2 separate regions of the Homo sapiens genome follow, and region 2 is linked to region 1. The links are contacts of gene promoters, found by promoter capture Hi-C in human tissues and cell types (Jung and others, 2019). All regions are on one chromosome and are shown on one strand. The core of a region is centred on a gene start or on the middle of the fragment in contact, and the rest is flanking DNA. Distances in the headings are between cores, read along the strand shown.

Region 1 (7,123 bases), core at 705-3,204:
CCGCAGACCCTATCCATTGTGTGGGGGATTTCAGTGGGATTCTTGGGCTTTCAGGAGCCTACAAGTGGACTCGCATTTCAACACCTGTGTTCTGTAGGGTTTTCTAGATCTAAGATTCCAGGATTCTATGAAAAGTTATGATAGCCCTGCCCCCTAAAAGATTGTAAGTTTAAACAACAACAAGAAGTCACAAACTGGTGCATCCCAATCCCATGGGTTCCATTTCACAGGTAAAAGGTGTCTGGGTGAATAAACTGCTGTGCCGCTCAAAGGACCCAAAGGAAGGTTCTTTGTGGGTTGGCGTCTGCAAATATCACCAGCTGCCTGGCTAGAGTGACCAGCTAACATACCCATGTGGACCCTGGGCATGAAGGGAGGTACCAGGCCAGGGGCAGTGGCTCATGCCTGTAATCCGAGCACTTTGGGAGGCCACTCTGGGAGGATTGCTTGAGCCCAGGAGTTCAAGACCAGCCTGGGCAACATGGCGAGAACCTGCCTCTACAAATAATTTTTAAAATTAGCTGGACATAATGGCATGCACCTATAGTCCCAGCTACTTGGGAGGCTGAGGAGGGAGGATCACTTGAGCCTGGGTGATTGAGACTGCAGTGAGCCATGATGGCACCACCGCACTCCACCTTGGGTGACAGAGCAAGACCTCACCTCAAAAAAAAAAAAAAAAAGAAAGAAAGAAAGAAAGAAAGAAAGAAAGAAAAGAAAAGAGGCTGGACGCAGTGGCTCATGCCTGTAATCCTAGCACTTTAGGAGGCCGAGGTGGGTGGATTGCCTGAGCTCAGGAGTTCGAGACCAGCTTGGGGAACACAGTGAAACCCCGTCTCTACTAAAAATACAAAAAATTGGCCGTTGTGGTGGTGTGTGCCTATAATCCCAGCTACTCAGGAGGCTGAGACAGGAGAATTGCTTAAACCTGGGAGGCAAAGGTTGCAGTGAGGCAGGATCACGCCATTGCACTCCAGCCTGGGCAACAGAGCGAGACTCCATCTCAAAAAAAGAAAGAAAGAAAAGAAAAGAAACGAAGAAAAGAGGCTGGGCGTAGTGGCTCACACTTGTAATCCCAGCACTTTGGGAGGCCGAGGCAGGCAGATCACCTGAGGTCAGGAGTTCAACACCAGCCTGGCCAACGTGGTGAAACCCCATCTCTACTAAAAATACAAAAAATTAGCTGGGCATGGTGGTGGGCGCCTGTAATCCCAGCTACTCAGGAGGCTGAGGCAGGAGAATTGCTTGAACCTGGGAGGCAGAGGTAGCAGTGAGCCGAGATCACGCCATTGCACTCTAGCCTGGGCAACAGAAGTGAAACTCTGTCTAAAAAAAAAAAGAAAAGGAAAGAAAGAAAGGTGGCCCTGTTAATGTTTATGCCAAGACAGCAGGCATGACCTGGAAGTGTCCGAAGCCACAGGGCATCTTGCTTCCGGGGAGGATGAATGAATCAAATCGCACCTATTTTAAGGCAAGCAAGGACTCCATGACTTCAGGAGCCCTGGTGGGTGGACAGAAGCTCCCTGCTCCCCTGGCCTGTCTACCCAGCAGCGCTTTGGCCAGTCCCATTCCTGTACTTCTGAGCCTGCCTGCCAGTCCCTCCTCACATGCACACCATGGCTTTGTGCCTGGTATTGAGTGTCCCGGAGCCCCAAACCACACGGTCAACCCCATGAAAGAAACAGGGACTCTGCTCTCATCCACTCGCCCCCGCCTCCCGCGTAATCCCCTGGTGCTCACGCAGCCCCACCGTACAGTTTTTCTAGCTCCCTGGCAGACTTGTGCTCCTGTTTGCCAGATCAAAGCCCAGTGACCTGAGTGGCCTGTCCCCAGCAGAGGCCACTAATCCCTGTGGACCCACCCTGTTGGGAAAGGCATGGGTTGAACTTTAACCATTAGGCTCAGGGGTTGGGATGAGTTTCTACAAAAAGAGGTGGGTACACGCCAGTCCACAGTGGTCCTGATCAAAGTGAGAACAGACAGCAGGGAACATCACCCTCTTCAGACTGGAGTCAGTGGGAACAGACCCAAGATGTTGGGGAGGAACACTTGGAAGACCTCAGCTTTCTCCTTCTTGGTTGAGCAGATGTGGGCCCCTCTCTGGAGTCGTTCGATGAGGCCAGGGCGATGGTGTTCTCAGCGTTCCTGTGCATGGCAAACCAGCAATAACACTTGTAAGTAGAGCCTCAAATTTCCTAAGATGCGACTGGATCCTTGTCTTAGCTGATGGGGTCTTTCGAGAGGAGAGAGGAGAGACCGTCCCGAGCCAGATGGGTTCAGATTTCCACTCCGTTTTTTTTTTTTTTTTTTTAAGATGGCGTCTCGCTCTGTGGCCCAGGCTGGAGTACAGTGGCGTGATCTCAGCTCACCACAACCTCCACTTCCCGGGTTCAAGCGATTCTCCTGCCTCAGCTTCCTGAGTAGCTGGGACTATAGGTGCATGCCACCACTCCTGGCTAATTTTTCGTATTTTTAGTAGAGACAGGGTTTCACTGTGTTAGCCAGGTTGGTCTCGAACTCCTAACCTCGCGATCCGCCTGTCTCAGCCTCCCAAAGTGCTGGGATTGCAGGCATCAGCCACGGCGCCCGGCCCTCTTTTTTCTTTTTTTGATGAAGTTTTGCTCTTTTGCCCAGGCTAGAGTGCAATGGCATGATCTCGGCTCACTGCAACCTCTGCCCTCCAGGTTCAAGTGATTCTCCTGCCTCAGCCTCCAAAGTAACTGGGACTACAGGCACCCGCCACTGCACCCAGCTAATTTTTTGTATTTTGGTAGAGATGGGGTTTCACCATGTTGGCCAGGCTGGTCTCGAACTCCTGACCTCAGGTGATCCACCCACCTTGGCCTCCCAAAGTGCTAGGATTACAGGCGTGAGCCACCGCGCCTGGCCACACTCCGTTTCTCTTGTATTTGGTGACCTTGGGTGAATCATTTAGCCTCCGTTTCAGGGGTCCTGGGGAGGGCAAGATGCTGGGAGCAGGCGGGTAGTCCGTGTTCGCACGGGACACACTGGCACGACTCACCATCCAGACCCGGCGGAATGGGCTGCACTAACCAGTCACGATCGCTCCTAAACTCTTCGGCAGAGAACGCTTTCAAGCAAACCTGTAACAAATAAACCACTCAGCCAGCTCTGCCAAGAAACTGCCCCGTGCCAGCCCCTCCTGGCTTCATGGTCAGTGCCTTGTGACCTTGAACGAGGCCCTTCCTCTTTCTGGGTCTCAGGTGCTTCCTCCGTAGAATGAGAGCCTGCTTTGGCAGCTGCCAAGTTCTCTTCTAACTGAAATCTTCCATGCATTCCATGTTTGGGCCATTGAAAGAGCATGGGCTTAGGAGCCAGACCCCAGGCATGCAGTCCGACTGACGCTTGCTGAGGTGGAGCCTCGGCAGGTCTTCACCCCCAAGCCTCTGTGTCCTTATCTCGAGATGGGGGTGGCCAGACTTTCTCTCCAGGGCCATGGAAGGATGACACGATGCGTGTAGAAAGCCTGGCCCACCCCAGACTCTGAGTGAGCTACACTCATTCCTCCTGTTGGGGTCCACACCTGTGGACTGGAGTGCAGTGGTGCGATCTCGGCTCACTGCAGCCTCTGCCTCCTGGGTTCAAGCGATCCTCTTGACTCAGCCTCCCAAGTAGCTGGGACTACAGGCGTGTGCCACCACGCCCAACTAATTTCTGTATTTTTAGTAGAGATAGGATTTCGCCATGTTGGCCAGGCTGGTCTCAAACTCCCGACCTCAGGTGGTCTACCTGCCTCGGCCTCCTAAAGTGCTGGGATTACAGGCGTGAGCCACTGCACCCACCCCCCTTTTTTATTCTTAGTACGACCGTCAAGAGCGCTAGCCTGCCTAGATTGGAATCTTGGCCCCACTGCTCTATGGCTGTTGCCCCTCTGTGACTTTCCTTTATTTTTTGAGACTAATTTCTGTCTTGTTGCCCAGGCTGGAGCGCAGTGGTGCGATCTCCAGCTCACCGCAACCCCCACCTCCCAGGTTCAAGCAATTCTCCTGCCTCAGCCTCCCGAGTAGCTGGAATTACAGGCATGCGCCACCACATCCGGCTAATTTTGTATTTTTAGTAGATACAGGGATTCTCCATGTTGCTCAGGGTGGTCTTGAACTCCCAGCCTCAGGTGATCTGCCCGCCTCAGCCTCCCAAAGTGCTGGGATTGCAGGCGTGAGCCACCACGCCCAGCTGTCCCCTCTGTGACTTTCTTAACTTCCCCCAGCCTTGGTTTTGTCGTCTGTAACAGGGGGTTGATAATGGTGCTTACGGCACAGTGTCGTTGGGAGAAGGGTCCGAGGTGGGGCCTGCAAAGGCTGGGGACAGCACATGGCTCCAGGAAGCCCTTGCTAGACGCCAGCTGCTGCTGTTGCTAACACAGGCAGCGGTGGGTGCCCTGTGTCTATTTAAGCATTTCCCTGTCAGTGGGCAGCAGGTAGCATTCCATTTCTTACTGTGGCAACATGTCCTCTTACATCGTGTGCTAGAGAGAGTCATATTCTGTATCGGCACCTAAATCCATTTACACCATGGTCCTCAACCTGTTCCCAGTGAACAGAGGGCTCTGCCAAATCATTTCAGAGTTCCACAAAGAGCAGAATATTCTGCCAAGCAGAGAAGATTGGAACATCATAAGGAATTCATCCTTCTATGTCGGTGTTTTATTTATGGGCATTCTGAAGATTATTTCACTTGGAAAAAGAATATTGTTACTAAAAATTATTGAAAAATCACTGGTGGTTTGGCCTTGAGAGAAAAGTCAAAGAGTTACAAAACGCTCAGTGATAATTTTAGAACCAGGCATGGGGGCTCACACCTGTAATCCCAGCACTGTTTTGGGAGGCTGATGTGGGAGGACAGCTCAAGCACAGGAGTTCAAGATCAGCCTGGGCAACATAGCAAGAACCCATCTCTAAAAAAAAAAAAAAATTAAAAAATTAACTGGACATGGTGGCACACACCTATCATCCCAGCTACTTGGGAGGCTGAGGCAGGAGGATCACTGACCCCAGGAATTTCAGGCTGCAGTGAGCCCTGATCAGGCCACTGCACTCCAGCCTGGGCTACACAGCAGGACCCTGTCTAAGAAAAAATAATTTTAGGGATCATTTAATGTTTTCTAGTCATGTTTCAGGGTGTGCACTGGCAGTGCCCATCTGTTCCTAAGTGTGTGATCAGCAACGTTACGTTGGTAACTTAAAATTGGCCATGGTGAAAGTATTTACACCACAGTCATTGGCAAACCCTAGAAATCAAAGATTCTAAATTCCTGGGAGAACGGCTTATTAAACCTCAACCAGCACACTGCTGCACATTTTTGGACATTTTACTGGCTATTTCCTGCTCAGGTGTGTGTGAGTCTTCTTGCATTTGGCTCCCCCCGGGCTGACCGTGGTTGGGCTGGGCTCCCCACTCTGGGTGGGTGCAGGCCTGCTCACTGCATCTCTCATCCTCCCTTCGCAGCCACCTGAGGCCTGTTCTTCTCACGGCGGAGGGCAGGCACTCACAGGGCGAGGCCAGCGGTGCCCATGTATTCCAAGCTACTGCTCACGTCATGTCTGCTAATGTCCCAGTGGTCAAAGCAGGTCACCAGGTGGCCAAGCCTAGTGACAATGGGGGAGGGGATAGCTCCTCCCATGGAGGTCAAGGGGGAAGGAATTTGAGATTTGCTGAACCACCATCAAACCTGGAGACTGAGAATGCATCGGGGAGATGGGGTCTCCTTCCAGACTGCGCCCGTGTGAATTAGGGGCAAATACTGGCCTCCTGGGGCAGGGGACTTGGCGTCTTTGATTCCATGTCCCCTGCACCTGGGCCAGGGCTTGACCCATAGGAGCAGCTCTGTAAATATTTGTTGACTGATTGAAAAAGAGGATAACATTTGTATTGCCTCCCATTGGAGCCCTACTGGAATTAGCACAGAACCTACGTTGCTGGGCACCAGGGTCGGCTGTGTGGAGATTGGAAGCCTATTCAGCATCCAGGTGGCGTCGCCTCCGTGCAGGTGGCAATGAGCCCTTTTGTTGGGTGACACACGCTGAGTTCAATGCGGGTGTTTCATTGTTGGTGGGCCCGTTGGTGCAGCTCAGCAAACAGAACCTAAAATTACCCGCTCTTCCCACAACCTGTGTCTCTGTGAGCCAGGGAAGCCTGCGTCTCTGGTCTAGATGAGCACCTCCTCTGTGGCATCAGTGGCTTTAGGGTTCTGTCTACATTCAGGTCTGTGTAGCCATGTTAAATGCCCCTTGCCCGGCAGGTAGGACTGGAGGCAGCGGCCGTGGGAGGGGGGGTAGAGTGCACTCAATCCTGCTTCCCGTTGGATGCAAGGGAGATTTGTGAGGCCTCAAAGGGGCTTTTTTTTTTCTTAGACGGAGTCTGCCTCTTGTTGCTCAGGCTGGCGTGCAATAGCGCAATCTCAGCTCACTGCAACCTCCACCTCCTGAGTTCAAGTGATTCTCCTGCCTCAGCCTCCCAAGTAGTTGAGTAGCTGGGATTACAGGCAGGCACGACCACGCCCAGCCTCAGAGAGGCTCTTTGGAGAGAACAGTCAATGGAAGTTCAGGGCTGCTGGTGTCGTTCTGAATTAAAGCAGATGCTGGGACAAAGGACACACAGACAGAGGCCCCTGTTGTGGCCGCCGGCTCCCGCGTCCATAGTTGTCTATCGCGTGAGAGAGAACAGAACGCATCTGCAGGATGCCGCAGGGCCCACTGTTTCCCAGCGCCGGCTTAGTCACTGCTTTCCGGCACTTAGCGAGTTCTGTGTGTGACCGCAGGGTTGTGCTGGGCTGTAAGGCAGGGGCAGGGAAATGCATCCTCCCCGTCTATCATGCGTGGGAAGGCACTCCAGGCCTTCCCCAGCGCCAGCGAGCTTATCTTCTCAGCAAAGCTGCTGTGATTCTACTCCCTTATTCTCCTTCCTGCAGATATAGAAACTGAGACTGGGAGAAGGTGGTAAATAATATGCCAGGTAACTCGGAGAGTGAGTGGGGAGAGCCGCCAGGGTTTTGGCCCACAGATGTGTCTTCCCCACTGCACAATGTGTAAAACTTAAAAAATTACTTGGCAAGGTCAGGCACAGTGGTTTATGCCTGTAATCCCAGCACTTTGGGAGGCCGAGG
Region 2 (6,888 bases), core at 745-3,244, 150 kb after region 1:
GGCGGCTCGCTGTCCGTCTCCCGGCGTGGGTTTGTTGCCCAGTGCTGACCAGTCACTCAGACACACAAAGAGCTCTTGGCCTGGGCCAGGGGAACAGAGGGCACTGTGTGCTGTGCCGATGCCGGCGTCTCTAGCCTCTGAATGCTGTCTGTGCACTTCAACAGATGAAGTTCTTTCCAACTGAAATGAAACCGCACAGTGAAACGGGGAGTTGTGCCCAGCTCCCTGGCTGGATCTTCTCCACCCGTGGTCTGGAAGTCTTGTTTATTTTATTTTTTATTTATTGAGTTGGTGTCTCACTCTGTCGCCGAGGCTGGAGTGCAGTGGGGCGATCTTGGCTCACCGTAGCCTCCGCCTCTTGGGTTCAAACTATTCTCCTGCTTCAGCCTCCCGAGTAGCTGGGTCTACAGAGTGGCATGCCACCACGAGCGGCTAATTTTTTGTATTTTTTTTTAGTAGAGATGGGGTTTCACTGTGTTAGCCAGGATGGTCTCGATCTCCTGGCCTTGTGATCCACTCCCAAAGTGCTGGGATCACAGGCATGAGCCACCGCGCCCAGCCAGAAGTCTTGTTTATTTAACCCACCACTAACAAATCAGAGTGTGGCCTTGGCTGTTGATAGCAGAGAATAATATTTATTGGCTTGGTGCCATTGCTTGGGCAAGCTTTCTAACCATAGTGGGTAAATGATGCCCTGTGTCTTGGCAGTCAGGCCTGGGCTGCTCCTCTCTGGGAGGGGGAGCCCCAGGGAGCTGGGAAGGCGATGATACTGAGACAAATGGGAGAGCTGCCTGGGAGGGCCGGGCAGAGCCAGTTCCCTTGCACATTTGCCACACCAGACCCATGTCTGTAGGGAGCGCCCCAGGGCTCTGGTGGGTTGTTAATTACAGCAAACGTACATTATCTCTGGATAATTCGAGCACGGGATTCTTTTGCCTAGGGCTGAAAAGATGTGTCTGCTAGCCAAGTAGGGGGAAAGCCCGTGAAGCCAGTCTTCTCTGCGTAATAAAGATAGAAAACTTAATGCAAACCTAATTCGCAGAGAGAATCCCACCAGAGACCGTGAAGACCCCAAAGAGCAGCTTGAAGAGGCCAAAAGCTAATGGCCAAAGAGAAGCAGTGGGTTTGGGTTTTCTTTGTACAGGGAGAGGACCTCAGGTGTCCAGCGGGGTGCTGCAGAGGAGAGGCCTTGGGGGAAGGTTATTACAGGAGCCCCGCCTCAAGACGACTCACGGCAGACAGGGGAGCCATGTTTTGAACAATGCACTTGGCATCCTTGTTAAACCACTCTAGCACGCAGTCTACACTGGACTGACTCCTGACTCTCCCGTGACTCAGCGGCCCTGCAAGTCAGCTCGTGCCTTGCGTGCACAGAGCAGGTTCCTCCACCCCGTGACCCAGGACAATGACCTGGCAAGCTCGCGGGCATGGCCTGGCCCCCTTCCCTGCCCTTGTGCGTTAGAACCCTCAGGGTCCTATGTGTTAATTCCCAAGGAATGAAACAGCTGGAAGGACCCAAGAATTGCTGGGATCTCATTCCCATGGCTTACTGACTTCCCAGACCTGATGGAACAAGCCTGAGGAGCTCGCTCGGCTTTCCTGGTGGTCTTTCGTGCCTCCTGCCATTTTTCCATCTTTTGCAAAAGGCTGCAGGCAGCACCCACACAGCCCTGCATGAGGCTTGGGTCAGAAGTAAGGGAAACTGCCAAATGCAGCCTTCTGGGTCATTTCAATAACACATACCTCCTCAAGCAATGAACGTCAGCCACGTCCAACATTGCACTTAGGTCCAAAGATTAACCAGCCATTTCTTAATAGAACAAACAAGCATGTTTGGCTTTGCCTGGTGGAACTGCAGCCTCCGGGCGACTGGGCAAAATCCACGAAGAACTGAAGTAAGCCCTGGAGAAGCCTTCCACTCAGCTGGGGAAGGCCAGGAGCTGTCAGGGGGTCCGAGCTGTTTGCTGTGGTGTACGGGAGGAGAGTGTAGAGTCTCGAGAACACCCAAAGCAGCCAGGCTCCAGGGCTCATTTCTGTAATCCCAGTGCTTTGGGAGGCCAAGGCAGGTGGATTACCTGAGGTCAGGAATTCAAGACCAGCCTGACCAACATGGCGAAACCCTGTCTCTACTAAAAATACAAAATTAGCCAGGTGTGGTGGCTCACGCCTGTAATCCCAGCTACTCAGGAAGCTGAGGCAGGAGAATCGCTTGAACCCGAGAGGCGGAGGTTGCAGTGAGGTGAGATCAAGCCACTGGACTCCAGCCTGGGCAACAGAGTGAGACCCTGTCTCAAAAAAAAAAAAAAAAAAAAAAAAAAGGAAAAGAAAAAAAAATTGGTGTTGAATCTGTAGGTCAGTTTGAGGAGAACTGACATCTTTCTAATATTTAGTCTTGTCTCAGTTACTAAAAGAGCCCTGCCATTATTTTTTGGTCTCCTTACATTTCTCTCAACAATATTTTGTAGTTTTCAGTGTAGAGGTCTTGCAAATTCTTTGTTTGATTTATTCTTCGTTTGTTTGTTTTGGTTTTGGTTTTGTTTGAATTGAAGTCTCATTCTGTCACCCATGCTGGAGTGCAGTGGCGTGATCTTGGCTCACTGACACCTCCACCTCCCAGGCTCTAGCGATTCTGGTGCCTCAGCCTCCCGAGTATCTGGGATTACAGGTGCATGCTAACATGCCCGGCTAATTTTTGTATTTTTAGTCAAGACAGGGATTCACCATGTTGGGCAGGCTGGTCTCAAACTCCTAACCTCAAGTGATCCACCTGCCTTGGCTTCCCAAAGTGCTGGGATTGCAGGTGTGAGCCACTGCACCTGGCCTGTTTGATTTATTCTTAAGTATCTGATGTTTTTTATAAATGGTGACTTTATAAATGGTAACTTTTAAGATTTTAGCTTTGTTTTGTTTGCTGCTGATATATAGAAAAACAACTAGTTTTTGTATGTTGATCTTGTATCCAGCAACCTAGATAAATTTACTTATGGATTCTAATAGATTATCCGTACATTCTTTAAATTTTCTACATTTTCTAAACCTTAAACCTTTTATTTCTTTTTCCTGCCTTTTGTGCTAAGCCTTCTGGTACAATGTTAAATAGACATGCTGAGAGAGAACATTGCAGCTTCACCTTCTATTTCTTTCTTTTTAATTTTTTTTTTGAGACAGGATCTCACTCTGTCACCCAGGCTGGAGTGGTTACCACTCACTGCAGCCTTGATCTCCCTGGCTCAAGAGATCCTCCTATGTCAGCCTTCAGAGTAGCTGGGGCTACAGGTGTGTGCTAGCATGCCCAGCTAATTTTTGGATTTTTTGAAGAGACAGGGTTTCACCATGTTGTCCAGGCTGGTCTGAAACTCCTGTGCTCAACTGATCCACCTGCCTCGGCCTCCCGAAGTGTTGGGATTACAGGTGTGAGCCACCACACATGGCCTACCTTCTATTTCTTACCCCTTTCCCTTATCAGCAATCTTATGAAGATCTGGGAAGATGGCAGTGGCAGCATAGTTTTTGAACATTCCAAATCCCCACAAAAAAGCAGAGAGCATGACAACATAGCAAAACAAAAAGTCCAGGGATTCTTTCATGAGTGTTCAGTGAAGTTTTCCAGAGGCCATATGACATGATGCAGCCAGGAGATAGAATGCAGAACCAGATATAAACTCTGGGCCACTGGCCTGGCATGGTGGCTCACACCTGTCATCCCAGCACTTTGGGATGCCAAGGCAGGTGGGTCACCTGAAGTCAGGAGTTTGAGACCAGCCTGGCCAACATGGTGAAAACCTGTCTCTACTGAAAATACAGGCCAGGCGTGATTGCTCACACCTGTCATCCCAGCACTTTGAGAGGCCAAGGCGAGTGGATCACTTCAGGTCAGGAGTTCAAGACCAGCCTGGCCAACATGGTGAAACCCTGTCTCTACTAAAAATGCAAAAATTAGCTGGGCATGGTGGCACATGCCTGTAATCCCTGCTACTCCAGAGGCTGAGGCAGGAGAATTGCATGAACCCAGGAGGTGAAGGTTGCAGTGAGCTGAGATTGTGCCACTGCACTGCAGCCTGGGTGACAGAATAAGACTCTATCCCAAAACAGAAAACAAAATCTGGGCCAGGCTCAGTGGCTCATGCTTATAATCCCAGATCTTCTGGAGGCCGAGGAAGGCAGATTTATTGAGCCCAGGAGTTTGAGACCAGCTTGGGCAACACGGTGAAACTCCATCTCTACAAAAAAAATACAAAAATTAGCCAGGTGTGGTGGTGCACACCTATAGTCCCAGCCACTTGGGAGGCTGAGGTGGGAGAATTACCTGAGCCAGGCAAGTTAAGGCTGTGGTGAGCCATGATCACGCCACTGCACTGCAGCCTGGGTGACAGAGTGAGACCCTGTCTCTAAATAAATAAATACATACATAAAATAAAAATCCAATTGTCTTCTATTTGCAAAAACATAAAACAAGCCATCCTTCTTACTAAATATGTTGTGGTTTTAGAAACATAGTTGCTTTTCATTAAAAAAATAATTTATTTACATTCACATGTAATAGGATTATCACTGACAGAGTGGTTTTCTCTGCATTAGTGGGTGAGTGCAAGGGGACTCTGGTTATGTTTAAAGAGGCTGGGGTCTACATCCTCTGTGAACTCTCAGAAATCACTGCTCAGGGCCTCCTTTCAAGACGCACCAAGCAAAACCGATCTTCAAGTACAAAGGGCATAGACAAAACATCGACGTGCAAGAACTCATTATTCCCATAAGCCTTTGTATTTTTTTTTTTTTTTTTTTGAGATGGAGTCACACTGTGTCGCCCAGGCTGGAATACAGTGGCTCAATGTCGGCTCACTGCAACCTCGGCCTCCTGGGTTCAATTGATTCTCCTGCCTCAGCCTCCTGAGTAGTTGGGACTAGGGGTGTGCGCCACCACACCTAGCTAATTTTTGTATTTTTACTAGAGACAAAGTTTCACTGTGCTGGCCAGGCTGGTTTTGAACTTCTGACTTCAGGTGATTTGCCCGCCTTGGCCTCCCAAAGTGCTGCAATTACAGGTGTGAGCCACAGTATCCAGCCTCCTTTTTTTTTTTTTTTTTTTGAGACAGAGTTCTACTTTGTCTCCCCCAGGCTGGAGTGCAATGGCATGATCTCGGCTCACTGCAACCTCTGTCTCCCGGACTCAAGGAATTCTCATGCCTCAGCCTTAGAGTACCTGGGATTACAGATGCCTGCCACCGCGCCCGGCTAACTTTTTTATTTTTAGTAGAGACGGGGTTTTTGCCATGTTGGCCAGGCTGGTTTTGAACTCCTGACCTCAGGTGACCCACCCACCTTGGCCTCTCAAAGTGCTGGGATTACAGGCATGAGCCACTGTACCTGGTCCCTATATGCCTTTTAAGGAACCTCCTAGAGGCTGGGTTTCAGACAACCAAAGTGACAAGATATCAAGAGAAGGACTGCTGGGAGTGGGAGATACACGTGCATAGCTGTTTGAAGGACTAGGACAAAATGAGAGATGTGATCATATGCAATGACTCTGTGATTTGACAATGTAGAAATTATGCACATTTAAAATAGGGGTTAAGGCCGGGCGCACTGGCTCATGCCTGTAATCCCAGCACTTTGGGAGGCCGAGGCAGGCAGATCACCTAAGGTTGGGAGTTCAAGACCAGCCTGACCAACATGGAGAAACCCCATCTCCACTAAAAATACAAAATTAGCCAGGCGTGGTGGCACATGCCTGTAATTCCAGCTACTCGGGAGGCTGAGGCAGGAGAATCGCTTGAATCTGGGAGGTGGAGGTTGTAGTGAGCCGAGATTGTGCCATTGTACTCCTGCCTGGGCAACAAGAGTGAAACTCCATCCCCCCCCACCCACCAAAAAGAAGTAAGATGATGTCGGTTACATTAGATCTCTTTCACTGCTGCAGTCATAATTTTGCAAAGGCGGCTTCAGCTTCTGCACCCAGCCATGGCAGGGAGAAAGAACACGGAAAGCAAGACATAGTGGTCTCCAGTTTTATCCCTGGAGCCTGGGAGAGAGCGGGAGTGGGTTTGGCCCGTGAGGTAGGAGCTCCTTCACTCCCAGCACACGGCAGCGTCAGGGCCCCCAGAGACAGCTCTGGAGGCAACGTCCCCAACCCAGCACTCTGGCCCCATCAGAAACCAGGGAGTGGCCCTACTTCTTCCAAGGTTCTGGCCTGAAATCTGAGGGTGTCGCAGCCAGAAGGTGCAGTGTGGTTTGCAGGTCACCACAGAGAAAATGGGACTTGGGTGTGAGGATGTTCTGTTTCTCCAATTCTGCCTCGAAGGGCCAAGTTACTTTGGGCGAGAGATTCGGGAACTCCAGGAGAGCTATGCCAACTTCTCCATGGCCCTTCAAAGGCATGAGGGATATTCTTGCAGTCACCAGTGCAGAGAAGCCATGCTCAGAGCCTGAGCCGTGTTGGCCTCGTTTTCTAATCACGGTGAAATGTGGATTGCCCTTGGAATGCCACCACCCACATTCCGGCTGCTGTGAGGTCAGCGGCCCCTGAGCAGGAAAAATGGACAACTTGCCGTCCCCTGTGGCTCAGCGGTGATAGCCTACTCTCTCCTAGCAGAGAGAGAGCCGGACAGACTCCATTTTAGTTTCTTCACCTGCAGTCCCCTTTCATCTCCCTCCCTTAAGGCATAACTAGTGTAAACTGACTCAAAGCACGTCCAGAAATGCACCTACTGATAAGATACAGAGGCAAGCTGCACCAGCAGCTCCTCGGGACGCGCTCGGTGGATGGCACCCGAAGCCCCTGCATTTATCTCTTTGTGATAGTTTAAGCCCCTGCACCTGGAACTGTTTATTTTTTGTAACCAATTAATTTTTTTTTTTTGAGATGGAGTCTCGCTCTGTCGCCCAGGCTGG

The links. The method cuts DNA at HindIII sites, captures the fragments that hold promoters and counts their contacts. A contact is called where the count stands out against the background at its distance.
Region 2: a fragment that was not itself captured here is called in contact with the fragment with the promoter of CA5A in region 1 in 3 of the 25 tissues and cell types used here (dorsolateral prefrontal cortex, lymphoblastoid cells and spleen).

What each region holds. Positions count from the first base shown.
Region 1 is chr16:87,931,360-87,938,482 of GRCh38, reverse strand. It overlaps CA5A (carbonic anhydrase 5A), which reads left to right and starts at 1,954. Exons shown (of 7, transcript NM_001739.2): 1 at 1,954-2,174. The coding sequence starts at 2,033. The HindIII fragment of the contact is 20,256 bases long and covers 1-7,123 here.
Region 2 is chr16:87,784,648-87,791,535 of GRCh38, reverse strand. No RefSeq gene overlaps it. Among named protein-coding and RNA genes, the nearest start is that of KLHDC4, 22 kb to the right of the region's middle. RefSeq lists enhancers at 387-1,586, 1,404-1,905. The HindIII fragment of the contact is 6,509 bases long and covers 1-5,248 here.